2 separate regions of the Homo sapiens genome follow, and region 2 is linked to region 1. The links are contacts of gene promoters, found by promoter capture Hi-C in blood cells and fetal thymus (Javierre and others, 2016). All regions are on one chromosome and are shown on one strand. Each heading gives the region's core, a stretch centred on a gene start or on the middle of the fragment in contact. The rest is flanking DNA. Distances are from core to core; before and after follow the strand shown.

The links. The method cuts DNA at HindIII sites, captures the fragments that hold promoters and counts their contacts. A CHiCAGO score of 5 or more calls a contact.
Region 2: a contact is called between a fragment that was not itself captured here and the fragment with the promoter of IL2RG in region 1, in 1 of 17 cell types (total CD4 T cells). The highest score is 5.0, in total CD4 T cells.

What each region holds. Positions count from the first base shown.
Region 1 is chrX:71,110,327-71,114,318 of GRCh38, forward strand. It overlaps IL2RG (interleukin 2 receptor subunit gamma), which reads right to left and starts at 1,251. Exons shown (of 8, transcript NM_000206.3): 1 at 1,099-1,251; 2 at 571-724; 3 at 178-362. The coding sequence starts at 1,213. RefSeq lists enhancers at 712-1,911, 1,014-1,403. The HindIII fragment of the contact is 3,788 bases long and covers 1-1,848 here.
Region 2 is chrX:72,099,979-72,103,970 of GRCh38, forward strand. All of the region lies in intron 1 of NHSL2 (NHS like 2), which reads left to right. Among named protein-coding and RNA genes, the nearest start is that of RTL5, 30 kb to the right of the region's middle. RefSeq lists a silencer at 1,139-1,258. The HindIII fragment of the contact is 3,103 bases long and covers 98-3,200 here.

The DNA.
Region 1 (3,992 bases), core at 1-2,500:
CCTGGCCTAGACAAGTCAGGATCCTGAAGGTAGTGCCCCTAATACCTCCTCCCTTCCCATCATGATCCCCTACCTCCTCTTTTCTGCCCATGTACCCTTATGATAAAAGAACACTACTCTGTAGACTCCAATGTCCCACAGTATCCCTGGTCTCTTGACCCTTTCTTTCCAAATTACCCAGATTCTGCAGTTTTAGCATCTGTGTGGCCTGTCTCCTGGGTTCCCGTGGGTCCTGGAGCTGAACAACAAATGTTTGGTAGAGGTGGATCTCCTTTTTTTGCAACTGACAGCCAGAAGTGATTTCTTCAGAGAATAGATAGTGGCTGCACTTCTGGACTTTATCATTATCCGAGTTCTTGTACCTAGAGGAGAAAGGTTGGAAGGAAGAGGAACAGTGGGGCCAATCTGGGTACTGCAGATATCCAGAGCCTAGCCTCATCTCCCCTCAACCGACTTATGACTTACCCCAGGAGAAAACAGTGGGGTACCTGGGAGACTTGCTACCCTCTCTCTTGGTCTCTGATCCAACCCACCTCTTCTTCATCCCCTCCCCCTCGTCCCTTCTCATACCAATAATGCAGAGTGAGGTTGGTAGGCTGGGGCTCAGAGCTGCTGTTCCAAGTGCAATTCATGTACTCGACATTGAACACAAAACACTGAACCTCTGGGAGGGGCAGAGTGGAAACACTGAGGGAGTCAGTGGGCATAGTGGTCAGGAAGAAATCTAGATTGGGGAGAAAATGAAGGCAGGGAGGGAAAGAGAAATGATGGTCAGAAGGAGGAGGCCAAGCACGGTGGCTCATGTCTGTAATCCTGGTGCTTTGAAAGGCTGAGGCAGGAGGATCACTAGAGGCCAGGAGTTTGAGACCAGCCTAGGCAACATAGTGAGACCCTGCCTCAAAAGAAAGAAAGAAACAAACAAACAAGAAAGAAAGAAGAAGTAGCGTGAGGCAGGGAACCCTCCCCCTTGCCCTTCCCACTCCACTTTTCAATTCTGCCCACATGATTGTAATGGCCAGTGGCAGGCACCAGATCTCTGTACGGCCCCTTCCCACAGCCACCCTTCTCACCAGCCCCCTCCAGTCCCAGATTTCCCACCAGCTGTGGTGTCTTCATTCCCATTGGGCGTCAGAATTGTCGTGTTCAGCCCCACTCCCAGCAGGGGCAGCTGCAGGAATAAGAGGGATGTGAATGGTAATGATGGCTTCAACATGGCGCTTGCTCTTCATTCCCTGGGTGTAGTCTGTCTGTGTCAGGAACCTGGGTCCCTCACCCACTACCCCTCCCCACCCACACGTTTCCTCTGTCATAGCTTCCGGTGGAAAGAACCTTATAAACCAGGGCTTTACAGAGGGTGTGGCAAATATGTGCTGTGTGACACGGGCTAAGTCCTCTAGGAGATTAGGTGCTGCTGTAAGGTGGTAAACAGAAACTAAAGCTGGATATACAATAGTGTCACAGACTCAAAAATCCTCAGCCCACCTAGATCCTGGGAAGGATCTGTTCACTACCACTAGCACCATTCTCAACCACCTTCTCCTCTAAATCATTACCTTCTATAATGGAAGTTCTGAACCCCCACCCCCGACATCACCGTTCTATGCCATGCCTCTTCCTTGACTTGGTCACCCTTAAATCTCTGTCAAAGCTCTACTGTTTTGGGAGGATGGAAAATACCGTCTTGGCTCCTGTGGGCACATATACAGCTGTCTTTCCTCTGATCTAATCCAAACCAGAATACCCACCCTTAGCTGCTGCCTGAGCTGGGTCCCTGTTGAGACTGGCGAGGAAGTGTGACTTATAATACAAAAATATTCTAGAAATGGAGGAACAACAATACTAGCTTCAAGCTTCCCATCTTCCCCCAACTCTGCTTCTCTTCCTGCCTTCCCCACCTCAGTCAATGGTATCGTCACCCTCTCAGTCACCCAGACTTGAAACCTCAGAATCAGCTTCAATTTCTCCCCCTCTCTCACCCAGAGAATATAACCCACTCTGCTTCTGTGGTGTTTCTCCCAACGGTTTCCTCCTTTCCATTACCACAGCCACTCTGCTAAATCAGTCTTTCATTAGCTCTAGTCATGATTCTATCTAGACTCCATCAACTGGCCTCCCTTTCTAAAGGCCCTCTGCTCTCTAATCCATTCTTCATCCTGTTGCCAGTTTTACCTTCCCCGAAAACACAGAGGTGATTGGAGAAGCCACTTACAGAAACTATTTATTCAGCAAACATTTATTACGTTTTTAATATGTGCCAGGCACTGTGCTTATGTTCTGGAAATAGACCAACAAGACATCCTCATATTTCTAGACACTCACAGAAAAGTGGGGAAGACATAAACAAGTAATACAACATAGTGTAACAAGTCCTATAGCATAAATGTAGAGATACTACAAAGTATGTGAGCACAGAAGAGGAAGTAACTAAATTTACCAAGATGGAGAGGGGGATAGTTTAGTGAAGGCTGTGCTGAAGAGGTGCTATTTCAGTGGCATCTTAAAGAATGAGTGTAATTTTACCAGACAGAAAGTGGTGTAGGATATTAAGCAAAGAAAAACAGCACTTGCCTGGGAGTCTCAGGAAAACTGGACTATATGGCCCAGCTTAGTATTTAGTATGTATCTTTAGTATGTATTAGTTTGCTAGGGCTGCCATAAGTTATCCCCAAACTGAGTGGCTTAAACCAACAGAAATTTATTCTCTCGGCTGGGTGCAGTGACTCACGCCTGCAATCCCAGCACTTTGGGAGGCCAAGGCAGGTGGATTGCTTGAGGAGTTCGAGACCAGCCTGGCCAACCTGGTGAAACCCCGTCTCTACTAAAAATACAAAAATTAGCCAGACATGGTGGCAACACCTGTAATCCCAGCTACTCGGGAGGCTGAAACATGAGAATCGCTTGAATCTAGGAGGCAGAGGTTGCAGTGAGCCAAAATTGCGCCACTGCACTCTAGCCTGTGCAACAGAGTGAGACTCCATCTCAAATAAATAAATAAATAAATAAATAAAAATTTTTTAAAAAGGAAAAAAAGGCATTTATTTTCTCACAGTTCTGGAGCCCAGAAGTCCGAAATCAGTGTGGCCAGGGTTGGTCCCTTCTGGAGGCGCTGAGGAAGAAGTTGTTCCATGCCTCTCTTCTAGCTTCTGGTGGCTGCCGTCGATCCTTGGTGCTCCTTGGCTTGTAGACACATCATTCCAATCTCTGCCTCCATCTTTGCATTACCTCTTCTTCTTCTCTGCATCTCCTTTATCCTTCTCTTCTCTTACAGGGACACCTGTCATTGGATTTATGGCCCACCCTAATCCAGGGTGTTCTCTCCTAGGAGCTTTGCCTTAATTACAGCTGCTAAAAGCCTTTTGTCAAAGAAGGTGACATCCACAGGTTCCAAGTGAACATATCTTTTTGGAGGCCACATTCAACCCACTACAGAGGGCATTCTCCAATTTAAAAGTCTTCAAAAGCTACTCATGGCCTTCAGAATAAAGCCCAAGCTCCAATGATCAATTCCAGCCACACTGGATATGTCATACGCATTTCCTTTCTCTGGAATTAGCCTCTTCCTAACTTTCTGTAGGCTAAAATCCTTCAGAAGGCAAAACCCCATCTCTACAAAAATACAAAAATTAGCCACGTTTGGTAGCACTCACCTGTAGTCCCAGCTACTCAGGTGGCTGAGGCACAAGAATCACTTGAACCCAGGAGGCAGAGGTTGCAGTGAACTGAGATCGCACACTGCACTCCAGCCAGAGTGACAGAGCAAGACTCTGCCTAAAAAATAAAATAAATAAAATAAATAAATCCTTCAGGGCTACATGCCTATTAGAATAGCCAAAATGGGCTGGGCAAGGTGGCTCACACCTTGCCTGAAATCCCAGCACTTTGGGAGGCTGAGGCGAGTGGGTTGCTTGAGCCCAGGAGTTGGAGACCAGCCTGGGCAACACAGCAAGATCCCATCTCTTGTTTAAAAAAAAAAAAAAAAAAAAAAGAGGCCG
Region 2 (3,992 bases), core at 399-2,898, 990 kb after region 1:
CACCTGAGCTGTGTGTCTCTGTGGTTGGTAGGAATGGATTAGAAGGTCAGACATTGAGGACAAAATCCTCAACTTCACCACTCAAGGCAACTCATGAAGCTTCTCAGGGTCTTGGTTTGTGGACTCCAATAAATTCAACGTATGCTGGTTGAGTGCAGACCAGAACAGCCGAGCCAAGTACAGTCAGGCCTCGCTTCACAATGGGGATACGCTACGAGAGAAATGCGTCATTAGGTGATTTCCTCATTGTGCAAACATCATAGAGTGTACTTACACAGACCTAGATAGTGTAGCCTGCTGCACACCTAGGCTATATGGTACAGCCTATGGCTCCAAGGCTACAAACCCATACAGCACGTGACTGTGCTGAATACTACAGGCAGTTGTAACACGATGGTACTTATCTGTGTATCTAAACATAACTAAACCTAGAAAAGATAGAGCAAAACTATGGTATCATCTAATGGGGCCACTGTCATATATGCAGTTGTCATATATGCAGTCCATTAAGCAGGGGTCCTCAACCCCTGGGCCATGGACCCGTACCAGTCCATGACCTGTTAAGAACTGGGTCACACAGCAGGAGGTGAGTGGCAGGCGGGCGAGCATTACCGCCTGAGCTCCACCTCCTGTCAGATCAGCAGCGGCATTAGATTCTCATAGGAGCAGGAACCCTACTGTGAGCTGTGCATGTGAGGGATCTCAATTACTTGCTCCTTATAAGAATCTAACTAATGCCTGATGATCTGAGGTGGAACAGTTTCATCCTGAATCCATGCCCCCACCCAAGTCCGTGGAGAAATTGTCTTCCACAAAACCAGTCCCTAGTGCCAAAAAGGTTGGGGACTGCTGTGTTAACTTACATGCCATTATGTGGCATATTGCTGTACAAATGGCCCTGGCCTTTCCACAAGCCGTAGCATGGCCACAGAGATATAGAAAGAGCCTGAGTGCTCACGAGGTGATTATCTGAGGTCTGTCACAGGTTCCCCTTTCTTTGCTTTCAGAGGCATCTCTGTTCACAGCGTCTCATCACACTCAAAACCCAATGCCTGTTTCCTTTTTTTTTTTTTTTTCAAAAGCAGAGTGTGTGGCAACGGGGCTCTGAGGAAATCCCTACCACTGTGGTTGGGGAGGGTGTGGTGTGAAGAACCCACATTGTGGCTTACTCAACTGTGAGATCTTAACTCTGTGGCCCCAGAGCCACTGTGCTCCTGGGCGGCAGTGGTGACAGCCATGGCGGCACAGCTTAGAGCCTGGAATGGTAAGCATGGGCTCAATTGCATCCTGCAAGAAGACTCGCATCAGGGTTTGAGCTCGGGGTTTGGTGTCTGGGTGGGTGTCGGCAGAATGGGAGGAGGCAGGTGGCTGGAGAGCACTGGGGACAGGTGGAGCAGCCAGTTTTGCCCTGGCCTGAGTCAGGCCAGGTTTGGGAAGCATTTGGACTCCACAGCAGGCTTGGGTGCTCGGCCCCTGGATTGACAGGAAGCTGAGAAATGTGATTATCTCCCACGGGACAACATGCTGTCCCCAAACAAAGGTGGCGGTCGCATGCCCACTGCCTAAGTTCTAAACGAGCCCTCCCCCAGCCTTTTCTCCCCAAGCTGGCCAGCTACAAGACCCAACCCCATGGTGGAGCCGAGGGTTCAGAGCAGCTAGGCACAGGAGAAAGGAATTTCCTCCTGTGGCTGCCTGGGAGGGAGCTCTTTTTCATCGGCCCCACCTGCCAGCTTCCCCATTACCAGGCCGAGGAGTGGAACACCAGCATTCCTTTTCCCTTCCTACTGCTGCCTCCTCCAGCCCTGCAGCCTAGAAACTCTCAGTGGTATCAGACTCCTGAAGCACCAGGCAACAGCCCAGCTTCTTTCTGCTTGGTCACACAAGCTGTGGCCTCCCAAATCATGCCTGGGCTAGGAAGACAGAGCAGTGTCACAGGAAATCTAAGTCCCATGCACATGGTGATCTCACCCCAGCCTCTACTGCTTCAGCCCCCTCCTGAGGCTGGCCAAAGCGTAGAAGCCCTGCTGATTAAGCCTCTTCCCTGAATGTTGGCAGCCTAGGCTCTGCACTAACTTAGCACCTAGTGCAGAGCCTGTCACGTGCATGGGAGCTACCCAGTAGCATTCTCTTGGACGGATAAATGCATGGGTGAATTAACATGCTTTGGATATTGTCTTTGTTGTACCTCCTCAGGGCTCCCAAAGCCTTAAAACTAGAACTTGTCACCTCATCACTTTAGAACCTTCTATTTGCAGGCATCTATGCACCTGCTGATCTCTCCCACTAAGAAAAGGTGACAAGAGAAACCAGCCAGGGGATTCCTGAGGGTAGTCTAGGAGTCTCGAAGCCTTGCAGTGGTCTTCCAGGCTGAATCATCCTACCTCGAGAACCAAGAGCATGAGAGTTGGCATCAGACAGACTTAGTTCAAGTCTCAACCCTGCTATTTCCTGTATATATAATCTTAGTCAAAAGTCATTTCACCACTCTTAAGATTTAGTACTCTACTCTGTAAAATGGGGCTAAAAATACCTACCCAGCATTATGGTGAGGAATAAATGAGAAAATGTGTTAGGTTGAATCCTATGAAACTGTCCAAAGCATTTAAATGCCAGCAAATTTGTATGGTTCAACCTAATATATAAAGTAGCCTTTATAAACTATAAAGTATAATAAATAGCCCTATATAAGTATTCATTATTCTTAACAGATATAATTTGTAAGTCACAGAATATTGTTTCTTGCAGTATTAGTAATCCCTTTCATCAGAATACAGGTCAAACTAACAGAAGAAGCCACTTATCTGACAATCGTGGGCTGCAGGCATTTCCTGGAGCATTTTGGCCTGGGAAATAGGGAGCAGGTATTTTTAGGAAACTAGACTGGTTCATGGAAAGCAATGGAGGTGAACACCAGGGTGACTCGTGACAGCTCCTACCTGGAAATGATTAACCCGCAAAAGCACAGTAGGAGTTGGCACATTCTCTTGCCCCAGATGGGAGTACCCACTCCCTAGCTCCAGTAGCAAAGCAGAGGCTGCCTAGGACAAACATTCCTTCCCGGGGGACAGAGCCAAAGGGTCCTAGGCCAGCAGACATCTGGAGGAAACTAAAAACAGCTTCTTGCCAACTTTTCCCTCCCTAGTGGCAGCTATCAAGCCCAGGTAGCTCCTCTTGACCTAGCAAAGTCCCACGCCTGGGAAAGCTTGGATTTGGAACTGATAGCTGCAGTGGCCACAGTGGAGGGAGTGGGGGAAGGTTCTCACCATATTATGCATCGCTCCCTCAATCCCAATCCTAGATGTAAAGGTCACTGGGATTTCAGGCCAGAGGGGACTGGGAAGAGTCCAGAGAAGTGCCCACAGATTTGCTCTGCCTCCGTTGCTGGCACCCCAGGCCAAGGACTACTGAAGCACTAAACAAACAGTTATAAACTTCCTAAGCAGTGTTTCTCACCGAGGGCATCATGGCCCTTGTGGGTAAGACAATTCTTCATTGTACAGGACAGTCCCATGCATTGCAGAACATTTAGAATCTGGTAGCAAGGTAAGAGTAGAGCTGGATGAGTCCCAGGTCCAAGGTTCAGGAGAAGGATCCAAGCAGAGTAGTGGCCTCTTCACAGCTCCAAATGGCACCTTGGTGAAGGCATCTTCAACTAGATGCTCTACAACTAGCTTGATGGCTGTGCACTACCCCATGAGCCAACTGACTGGGTAATCTTGGTTGGGCCATCAGAAACATGTAAATTCACTCAGACAGGGCCTGGGACTTGAGAGGAGAAAAGCCAGAGAAGATACCCTCCCAGGGCTGCCCATGGGCAGGCAGTGCTCTGCACAGCTCTTAGCCCCAAGCCCTGGCCAGCCTGTGGCAGAAGGTCCATGTGGAGAGTGAGGCCGACTTGACCCAGTGCCCGAGTACCAGTTTCCAGCATCAGCCAGGATGGATGTGGGATGCGTGACATTCATTCAGGGAAGTGTGAATATCCAATTTGAGCT